Regions from separate parts of the Homo sapiens genome. Here region 2 is linked to region 1. The links are contacts of gene promoters, found by promoter capture Hi-C in blood cells and fetal thymus (Javierre and others, 2016). All regions are on one chromosome and are shown on one strand. Each heading gives the region's core, a stretch centred on a gene start or on the middle of the fragment in contact. The rest is flanking DNA. Distances are from core to core; before and after follow the strand shown.

What was found. The method cuts DNA at HindIII sites, captures the fragments that hold promoters and counts their contacts. A CHiCAGO score of 5 or more calls a contact.
Region 2: a contact is called between a fragment that was not itself captured here and the fragment with the promoter of RFT1 in region 1, in 12 of 17 cell types (M1 macrophages, M0 macrophages, megakaryocytes and 9 more). The highest score is 14.2, in M1 macrophages.

Annotation. Positions count from the first base shown.
Region 1 is chr3:53,127,922-53,133,255 of GRCh38, reverse strand. It overlaps RFT1 (RFT1 glycolipid translocator homolog), which reads left to right and starts at 2,821. Exons shown (of 13, transcript NM_052859.4): 1 at 2,821-2,918. The coding sequence starts at 2,856. RefSeq lists enhancers at 2,416-2,465, 2,476-2,675, 2,716-2,765, 2,776-2,965. The HindIII fragment of the contact is 8,425 bases long and covers 1-5,334 here.
Region 2 is chr3:53,166,291-53,172,038 of GRCh38, reverse strand. The region is part of intron 2 of PRKCD (protein kinase C delta); the gene reads right to left. Among named protein-coding and RNA genes, the nearest start is that of PRKCD, 8.0 kb to the right of the region's middle. RefSeq lists a silencer at 1,718-1,767 and enhancers at 2,964-3,644, 3,645-4,325, 4,441-4,510, 4,521-4,630. The HindIII fragment of the contact is 164 bases long and covers 2,384-2,547 here.

The sequences.
Region 1 (5,334 bases), core at 1,572-4,071:
GCCAAGTGTTAACTTCCAGAATAAGAGAAAAAGTCCCTGGATTCCTCACCCAGGAGCCCCACAGAGTCCATACCTTGGGGTCCTAGAATGCTTTGCCCTTTAGACTTAGCTTGGAGCATTTCCCCTTTGACTTCTTTGCTCCTAGCAAAATGATCACTTCTTCCCTCCCAAAGCAGCTTACATGGATGCCAGGCTTAGGAGTGTGTGCACATGATGAACTCTTGGCTGGTTCTACTCTGGGGATGAGCTGTAGAGGAGGAGACTGCTTGGCTGGGAATAAAGGAAGTGGGAGGCTGTCTCACCTGCTGGCCCACAGTCCAGGGGGGTGGGAAGGCTGCCCAGGTCAAGGTCTTTAGCATCTCAGCCATTATGCCAAATACCTGGACCCTCCAGCACTTTCTCTATTCTCCAAGTACACTCCTCCCCAGGTGGGTGCCCAACTCACTCATCCTAAAACAGCACCCCTCTCTCTCTTCCAAAGCCTCTAGGATCTTACCTGGTTTCATTCTTTCGTAGCACTTAGCCCTATGTGAAATTTTATTTGTTTGTTAGAGTTTTTTTCAGTTTCCCTTTCACTAGAATTTAAGCTCTCTGAGGGCCAGACTTGCCTGAAACAATCCTTATGACTATTTTTACAGGACAGATAATATCCCTATTTAGTAGCTGAGCATACTGAGGTCACCCAGTCAGTGAGTGGCAGAATGAGGATTCAAGGTCAGTTCTCTCTGACAGACAAAAGCTCACATTCTTGGGCAGGGTGCAGTGCGGTGGCTCATGCCTGTAATCTCGGCACTTTGAGAAGCTGAGGTGGGCGGATCACTTGAGTCCAGGAGTTGGAGACCAGCCTGAGCAACGTGGGAAAAACCCATCTCTACAAAAATCACAGAAAAAATCAGCCAGGTCTGGTGCTGCACGCCTGTAGTCCCAGCTAATCGGAAGGCTGAGGTGGGAGGATTACCTGAGGCCAGGAGGTGGAAGCGGCAGTGAACCAAGACTGTACCACTGCACCCTAGCCTGGGAGACAGAGCGAGACCCTGTCTCAAAAAAAAAAAAGAAAAGAAAAGAAAAGAAAAGAAAAGAAAAAGAAAAGCTCACATTCTGGGCCTCCACACTAAGACAGAGCTCATTTCACCTGGGAAGATGGGAGTGATAGGCTTTGAGTTCCACAGTCTGTTTCCAGCAGCAGTAGCAGCAGTCATGTGTCAGGAGACATTTATAGGAGCCCTAAGAATGTTCTGTACCGCTACTTCAGGAAGCAAAACCAGGCAGGCTGCACTTCTGCCCTCTTGGAGCTCATGGGCTGATTATATAGAGACACATATTCTAGTCTTTCTGCTATAATGCAGATTGCATTAGGAACTATAAAGGGGTACAGAGTATTTTAGGGGTACTGTCTTGATTTGCTTGGGCTGCTGTAACAAAATACCATAGACTGGGTAAGTCAAAAACAGAAATTTCTCTCACAGCTCTGGAGGCTGGAAGCCCAAGATCAAGGTGCTAGCCAGTTTGGTTCCTGTTAAGTGTATGTTGGGCGCCTTACATTTTACAAAGCCTTCTTCGTGGTTGCAGACAGCTACATTCTTGCTGTATCCTCAAATAGTAAACACAGAGATCATTTTTCTGACATCTCTTTTTATAAGGACATGAATCCCATTATGACGGCTCCACTTTCAGGACCTAATTACTTCCCAAAGGCCTTACCTCCTAATACTATCACACTGGGGATTAGGCTTCAACATATGAATTTTGAGGGTACACAAACATTTAGTCCACAGCAGGTACCAGCTGTGGTTGGCCAGGAAAGTCAGGACAGTGTGGTCTAGGAGGGCAAGGGGTGCTGTCAGGGAAGACACTTTGGACAAAGAGGGTGGAGGAGCAAAGGCCAGTGAGTCACCGCCTGTTTGAGGACCAGTAAGGACTCGGAATGGCTATGGCCTAGATAGTGTTGGGAAGGGCAATGATCGTGTGAAAGGTAGTAGAAGATAGGTTGGGGCCAAATCATGTGAGGACTGAAAGAGATTGGGGAAAGACTGGGCTTCCTACAGCCTGCTTGGTAGATAATAAGAACACTGACAGAACAGCAGCTGATTGTGTATGTTGGGCGCTTTACATTTTTTTACAAAGCACTTCCAGTCCTTCTTCCACTCTGCCCTCACAATTTCTAGCATACAGGCAAGAGTGATAAGTTTAGGATCAGGAGCCTGGTATCCACTTAGTCAGGAAACAAGTTGTGTAGATTCGAACAAGTCACTTCCCATCTCCAAGGCTTTACTCATCTCTAACCACAGGGGCCAATTCTCAGAGCTTTCGGAAGGATTTCACAAAACCATACACATAACAGTGCTATATCTAACTTCTGGTCCTCAGTTCTTTCTCTGTTAAATGAGGACAATTCCTGTCCAGCCTAATTCAGAGGGTCTGTGGCTGTGATTCTGTAAGCAAAGGTCAATGGTGAGAATCTTCTTAACGGGCCAGTGAGAAGTTTGTTCCCCTTTTGGCAGATGAGGCCAGGAAAGTTAGTGCTTCTTGGTTGGTGGCTGAAAGCCTCAGAGAAGGAACTTTGGATTCTTTAACGGTATCTCTTAGTACTCGCCACACTATTTCGTTTATACGGGGAAGAGAGGGACAGACAGCGCACAAGCGACAGACAGCGCAAAACCTACCGAAATAGAAAGAGCCAGGCGCCATAACAGACGGCCCGAGACAGGCCCACTTAAAGGACCAGAACTTCTCGTGCCCCGCCCCCCTCTCTCAAGGCCATCAATCAGACAGCGAGGCGCGCCGTGACGCCATCTTATCGCGACTAAACGGAGTGGCGGCGGCATTTCCTGGTGTCTGAGCCTGGCGCGGAGGCTATGGGCAGCCAGGAGGTGCTGGGCCACGCGGCCCGGCTGGCCTCCTCCGGTCTCCTCCTGCAGGTACTCTCTGCCCTTCAGGTTCCAGCTTGTACTGCAGCCGGGATTCGCGGGATGGCAGCCCTTGGGCCCTTGAGAGCCTGCCCCAGGGCCGACCCAGTCCCGAGGTGGACCCCGCAATGGAGGGGGTGGGGGGGTCGACCGGAGACGGTGGCATTGATGAGGGGGGACCCTGGCCCGGAGATAGGAGCCTGCCTTTAGAGTCTAGGCCGGGTGACTGCAGACAAGCCGCTTTCCTTCTGAGCATTCTATTTCCCATATGGCAGTAGGAGTGAATTAGATCAGGTGGCGGGGGTGAGGGACTGGTATTTCGTGCTCGAGAATCTGATATTTTTCAGGCAAGGGGTTCATTTCCTTCATCAAACACCTTCCTCAAACTTTGAGTCCCACTGAGTTCCGAGAGTCCATATGGCATAGCTAAGAAGAGAAATCTGGAGTTAGGCTTGGATTGCTCCGTGACCCAGGACAAGTGACTTCACCTGCAGAGCCTGAGTTCCTCACTAGTAAAATGGGGGTAATAATATGTCGTACTTAGCTCATAAGCAGGGATTGATTGGGATCATTCAAATAAACGTACTTAACACAGTACCCGGCTCTTAGTATGCATTTAATACATGTTGGCTGCATCTTCTGTTTATGTGATCTTGGACAAGTCACTTCCCTTCTTGGCCCTAATTTTTGTCATCTGTCAGGTATGATACAGGCCAGTTAGTCCAAATGGTATCTGAAGATTCTTTCAACCCCAGGAGCTGAACCTCTTAAGTCAAGTGGCTCAGTATCTCTCTGTCTCACTCTTGAGCCAATCAACCCTACTTCACACAAGTCCCGAATCTACCCTACCCCTTATCTTAGAGAGGCACATGGAGGGCAGAAGAAAGAACCAAGCAGAATGGGGCTTGAGTTTGGGCCTTGTCACTTGCTAGATGCCTGCCTTCGGGATAAATCCGATGACTTCTGTATCAGTTTCTTCATCTTAAATGAGAATCATAGTGCAACCTCACAGGGTCATTAGGAAGATTAGATGAAATCATGCCTCTTAAGTGCCTGGCACACTACAAGTACTTAATAAATGTAGCTATTTTTATTAGGGTAATAAGTATTTTTAAAATAGTCAATGTAGGAATGAAATGAGATAACCTATGGAAAGCATGTTGAAGAGTGCCTTGCACGTGATATGTGCTTAGTAAATGTTAGCCATTCTAAGTTTACCTAGGGATTTTTTTTTTCTGTTTCACTACATAAATAACTGAGTTTATTGTTTTATCCACAATGTTGGTTTTTTTTCAGCCTTTGATAATATCTTACTACTCAGATAGGCTTCATAAAACGAAAACAAGTTATAACGGAAAACACACTGGACTACGAGTCAGGTGGCTTACCTGTAAGGTCAAGCTGGGTCATTTACTTGCCGTGTGACAGTGAGGAAATCACTTAACCCTCAGTCTTGCTTCCTGTGCATTTACCTCGTTGTTTTTAGTGTCAAATAATTTAACAGATGTGAGAGAGCCTTTTTGTTAAAACTGTAAAGTTGGCTGGACGCGGTGGCTCATGCCTGTCATCCCAGCACTTTGGGAGGCCAAGGCAGGAGGATTGCTTGAGCTCAGGAGTTGAAGACCAGCCTGGGCAACATGGTGAAACCTTGTCTTTACAAAAAATACAAAAATTAGATGGGCGTGGTGGCATGCACCTGTAGTCCCAGCTACTCAGGAGGCTGAGGTGGGATGATCTCGAGTCTGTGAGGTTGAGGCCTCAGTGAGCTGTGATTATGCCACTGCACTCCAGCCTGAGCAACAGAGTGAGACCCTGTCTTAAAACAAAAGCTGTAAAGTTCTTTGCAGAAGTAAATGAAGGCTGTGTTGCTAATAAGGACTGCAGTGTGTGGCAAATACTGGGTGGCGTAAGCAACCTCAGTTTCATTAGCTGCAACCTTTATTCAAACCAATTAGGAGACATGGATATGGCCTGGAACATTAAGTTTCTTAGACAGTGGTAACTTTGAGGTTAACATAAGTATGTACACATGGTGTTTTGTTTTTTGTTTTCGAGATGGAGTCTCACTCTGTTGCTCAGGCTGGAGTGCAGTGGCACTATCTCGGCTCACTGCAACATCCGCCTCCCGGGCCCAAGAGATTCTCAGGCCTCAGCCTCCCAAGTAGCTGGGATTACAGGTACCTGCCACCACACCTGGCTAATTTTTGTATTTTTAGTAGAGACAGGGTTTCACCATGTTGGACAGGCTGGTCTCGAACTTCTGACCTCAAGTGATCCACCTGCCTCAGCCTCCCGAAGTGCTGGCATTACAGGTGTGAGCTACCGCGCTCGGATTTTTTTTTTAATAACCATATTTTTATATGGTTTCTTGAGTGTTTTCATTCTTGTATGCTTTCTCGAATTACACTGTAGACACTTCAGGTAGCTT
Region 2 (5,748 bases), core at 1,216-3,715, 39 kb before region 1:
CCCAGCCAGCGCTCCTCCTGGGCCCCTCCCTCACCCCACACAGACCAACCAGTACCTGTGGCCTCTCCTCCCCTTACCCAGCTCCCTCCCGGTTGTCACCATCTCTGGTCCCTCCCCTACCCATTCTTCCCACAGCTGGGAACCTCCTAGGCTCTCACTGCCCCTGGAGAAAGCCCAGACCTCTCCAGGCCTTCCAGACTGCCCACTCCCTGGCCCTGTCCTGCTCTCTACCTCAATCCCTGTTCTGGCTACTCTGTGAACATATGTCTCATTTCCCAGCCCCCATATTTTTGCAGATGTTGTTCCCTCAGCTGGAACAGCCTTCTGAATTCCCACAGATCCTTCCAGGCAGCTCAGAAGGCTGGCCCTGGGGGACCCTTCCCACCTCTCAGGAAGCTAGCTGCTTTCCCACTGGTAACCTCTGCCACACCAGGCCCATGGAACTTACAGCCTGGTGGGAGCCAGTCACATAAATATGTGATTACAAAGGATGGTAAGACCTCTGTAGGATGCGCCACGCAGGCAGTGAGTAGCAGGGAGTGAGGGGGGCTGGAGGAGAACGGAGGCTGCAGGGACCTGTTGGCTGGGGGCCTTCGATCTGAGGGGTCAGCAGGAGCATAATGGCCTGCCCTGCCAGAGGGTCTGGAAGGTTCAGAGGGGCAGGACTTGGGAGCCTGGCTGTCATCGGCTCACATCCACCTCTGCCAGCTTGTGTGGGGTAGGGCCTCCTTGGAGGGAGGCCACCAGGCACAGGCCTCGAGTCACCAGCCAGCCCTAGGATATGAGGAGTCCTGGGCTCAGTCAGAGGGCGGTGCCCCAGGTACCCCTGAGAGAGGAACAAAGGCCCCTTCATGGCAGGAGCCAGAGAGCCAGATCCTGTGAGGACAAGGGGCCTCTGTGAGGAGCCAGGGTGGGGGATGCAGCCGGGCCTCTCCACGAATAACCACACGTGTGCACACAGGCACACTCGCCAACCCAAACAGCACATAGGGAGCCCCACTCGACATTAGACACACACGCACACAGTTGGAGCCACAGGTACGTACACACACTGCTGTGATGACACAGGGGCACACGTACACACACACACACACACACACAGAAACACACATGCACTCACCGGCTCTCACATCTCAACAGATACCCGGGCCCACACAGACCACACCCGACCACATAGGCTCCACACGCACGTGGAGTGCCACAAGCTGTGATGTACACACTGGCACAGAGATGCTCCAGGCAGACACAGAAACAAACATACAGTCCTGGAAGGACCCCACATCCCTGACTAGAGTCTGGCACCATGAAGTCCAAATGCAGCTTTTTCCACCACAGCCCCCAGGCACAATGGCTGGGGAATGGAGGAGGGGCAGAAGGGCAGCTGGTGTCAGGCTAGGCTGGGCCTTTCCACCCAGGGAGACGAAGAAAGTCCCTCTTGATCCAGAGCAAAGTCTAAAGTGTGTAAGGGAAGGAGTGGGCTGGTCAGGCACATCACTGGGCAGGCCTCCGCCCGCCCGCCCACCTGCCTGCAGGGCCCTGAGGCTATGGTGGAGGTTGAAGGTCACAGGTGGCAGTCACAGGCCTGGCGCGCAGGGGGAGGGGAGGGCTTGAACCTATGTTGGTAGGGCAGCAAGCCGGGCACCCCAGGAGCAAGTTCCTTGAGCTCCAGGCTCACTGTGCAGAAACCGAAAGAGAGGTTGAGCAATTCAACCAAAGCCACAAAGCCAATGGGGCAGACCCAGGGGGAAGTGGGGAGAGAACTTCCAGCTCTAGTCCTAGAACTGCCCATCTGGCCTCCAATGGGGTGAGGGTATGTGTTTGGAGATGGGAACAGCTCCTCCATCAGCCCCCAGTACAAGAGCCCTACTCCTTAGCCCTTCTTTCTCCCACAGAGTTCCCACGATTTTCCAGATGGTTTACCATTGGAAACAATCGTTTTGTGTTTGGGAGAAGGCAAGATGGCCACCTAACCCTTTTGCCAGTCATCCCCAGGATCTGGGCAGGATCCACATGATGCTTCCCCACTTTGGGGATATTGAGAAAGCTGGGAGAGAGGCAGGACCATCCCGCATGGTGCGCCATCCCACAGCAGGCAGCGGACAGAGGAACCGGCGAGCTTGGACCTAGACAGGCCTAGCTCAGATCTGCTGCCTGGGTGCTCCGCGATCTTGGCCCAAGTGCTCTGGTGTCTTCCAGACTTCCTTGGAAAGTGGGAAAAGAGGCTCTGTTAAGCCCCCCAGCCGCAGGGTGCCCTGTTCTGGCCTGAGGCTCTGGGCAGAACTGGGCTGAAGCAGGCAGCATGAGTCCACTGGCAGAGGCTGGCCAGCTACTGCCCCTCCCGGGGCTCCAGCCTCCCTGTCTCAACAATGGAGACCTCTAAGCTTTCTCCAGCCCTGACACTGGAGGACCCTGGGATCCTCCTCCCACCCCAACAACCCCAGCCCACAACCTACACCACGCAGACATCTGATCTAGCCTCAGGCCTTGGCGACTGCCTGCTCTGCTCTGCCTGTTTACCCAACACGGCCATAGACATGATCCAAAGCTTCCGGAGCTGTTGTGAAAACAGCGGCTCAGCCACCACAAGCCTGCCCTCCTGGGTGCCTTGGCAGAGACCTTTGAGGGACAGCCATCCCAGTCCTGTTCGTGGGCCTCTCAAATGCTCCCCCACCCCTTAGAAGGCCTGTTGAGCCCTCTCCTCCCCAATCCTGGCTTTAGGCTCCCGTCTCTACTTTGGGCCCAGACCCTCCTGAACTTCAGGCTTGTGGCCCCACCTGCCTCCCTGGCTTCACCACATGAATGACTCCAGAAGAGCTCAAGCCTGCCCACACCAGTCCCCCGCCGTTCCCCTCCCAGCGCTCCTCATCCACTAGGAGTGCACGAGCTCAGGCAGTGGCTCAGGCCAGACAGCTCCCCCTGCTCCCCACACAATAAGGCCATCCCGTCTGCCGCTGCAGCCTGTCCTCAAGTCTCAAATCCTCTTCTCCCACCACCACCATCCCCAGGCTCTGCACCTGTCTTCTGACTGCTCTCCATCCTCTACCCCGGCCCGACAGTCCCCCTGTTCCAGCCACCAGACGGGGCTTTTCAGACAGATTTTGTCACCCCCTGCCCAAGCCCCCAGTGCCTCCCATTGCCCCTCTGACAAGCCCAGACTCCTCCCCTCAGCCTGCTCCATGCAGCCTGCCCCCCGCCACCCCCCTCCCCATCACCGTTACCTCCCTGACCTCTCGGGCAGGCGCTGCCTTTCCCTCATTCCTGTGCCCCAGCCACGCTGACCCCTTTCAGTTCCCGAAGCAGCCAGTTCCTTCCCGCTTAGGAGCCTCTGGGCTTGCTGTTCCGTCTTCCTGCTCCACCCCACCCCACACAGTGGCTCCTTCCCATCGTTCATGTCTCACAGGACACCACACCCCGTGATCTGCCCATTTCACAGACGAGGCAAGTGGGGAACGGTCCAGTCCCTGGCTCAAGTGTGCACAGCCAGTAAATATTGAGCAAGGATTCAACCAGGGTCTGTCTGATGCCTGCAGAAGTCCTGCTCCTAAGCCTTCAGGATACCCTCAACCACACTTCCCGCCCAGGCCCATCCACCTTTCGCTCTCCAGCCCTCAGGCCCCTGCTGTTTGCATCACTGTCCTTACCACTCCTCAACACTCCTCATCCCCAGCCTCTGGGCCCCACACAGTGAAGGCCAATGCTTAGCCCAACCCTAACTGTGCTGACCTTCTTCGTGTCCCTGGGACAGGCTGGGCCCTGCCCCCAGCTGCCATGGGTGTAGGGGGTTTTCTAGCTCCCCCTACTCTTCTAGCTTCCATCAGTCCCAGATGCCCACTCCCTGCCCCAGCCCACAGGCTGACTCCAGGGGTCTGAAGGGTAAGCAGGCTGGCAGGAGGGCTTACGTCCACCCCCTCGTTCCCAGCCAATTCTCCCAGCCTAATGTCCTGCAGGAGGCCAGAGCTGGAGAGGGCCAAGGGGAGCCCTGAGGGGGCAGCAGGCAGCTGCAGACTGCCTTTCCCCTCCCTGCATCCATTTGTCACGAGATCTATTTTCTCCCTTTGAAAGGGAGTGAGGGGGAGAAGAGCAGGCAGGGGCTGGACTGCTGAGTGGGTGGAGCTGCTCCAACAGGAGCTCCTCTCCTCGGAGGGCATGGAACCTACTGAACAAGTAGGGCACTGCCACTGGAGGTAGAATTGAGGGGGATGAGGGAGTCAGAGACCTGGCTCCTCAGCCAGGCTCCACAGCCACCTGGCCATGTAACACTGGGCCAGTGCCCAGCCCATCAGATAATAATACCCCCTCATCAGTCCCACTTGCTATTTTTTGAATAGTTCCCATGAACTGGGCTCTAAATGCTTTACATAACTACAGTTTCTACTCATTCAACTCTGACAATGCACTAAGCACGATGCCAGCTACTTTGCATATGTTATCTGTCATTTCCGCACAACCTCATCAAGATGGATGCTATCATTATCTCATCTGTCAGGGGGAGACTGAGGCACTGAGCGGCAGAGCCACTTGCCCAGGTTCATTCATAGAGCTGCTGGGAGCTGCCTAGTCACTAAGATGCAGCCCAGCCATCACCTCTCTCAAGGGGGCCATGCCTACCAGAGTTGATGCTCTTGAGCCTCGGCTTACAGGCTCAGAGCAAGAAAGGAGCCACGGTTGTGGGGACTGCAGGGGACTTCGTGACCTGCCCCCTGCCCTTCTCCTAGAGCCCCCCAAAAAGGCCTGGGCAGCCCTGGCAGTGAAAAGCCTGGTCAGTCAGCCTAACCCGGTGGCCAGACGCTGCTCCCCTGGGCAGGCAAGGCAGGGGCGGAGCAAGGCGTAGAGCCACTGACAGAGGGCTGGTCAGTCCCACTCCAAAACCACTTCCTGGGCAGCTCAGAGGAAGTAAGCCTCCGGAAACGCCTTGAACAGATGGGCCTCTCTCCTAGGCCCAGGCTTTGGGAAGTGAACAGACAGCCCCTGCCAACCTCTCAGTCCCTAGAGCCCAGCAACTCCACTCCCTCTAGGCATGGACACCGTGGGGGACACAGGAGTTGATAGGACCCCCACCCACTGTGAGCACCTTGGCCCCATGGCCAGACAGCCTACTTCCTCTGCTGTAGCAGCAGGCACACAGTGCTGGCACAGCTGACACAGCCTCTCCCCCGCATTCATGCCTCCCATCTCCCATGCCAATCCCTGGTCGGCCTGGAGCCTGGGGCCAGGTGGGCAGGGTGGCTGCTGAATGCATGGGCAGAGCCCACCTACCAGGGTGGCCCAGCCCCCCTTACTGAGATCACAGCCACACCTGGAACTTGCCCCTCAGGTGCCAGATGCAGGCGACCTGACTGGGCTGTAACTCTGACCAGGGACCCCTTCCTGACCCCAGAATGGGCACAGTGCGGTATGTGTGGGCAGGCATTTGAGTGCATGGATGCCAACGGTAACTGGGAGAGCATCTGTGTGTGTGTGAGTGTGCCATGGGTGGCTGCATGTGAGCACCTGTGTACCTGCATGCCCACATGTGTGGTGCACGTACAGGAACTCATGAGTCTGTGGGTGTGCATGCCCACTGCAGCCTAGCTTGCCATATCCCTGTGTGAGCACGCATATGTCTGTGCAGCTGGAGGGTGATGTCTGAGGGTTTACAGTGGGCTGTCTCCAAGACTAATCAAACTCCTTACAAAACAAGGCTGAGTGACGGAAAGGGCTGGCTCTTCAGAACTTAGGTGGCAGAGGCCCCTAGACAGCCAAAGGCGC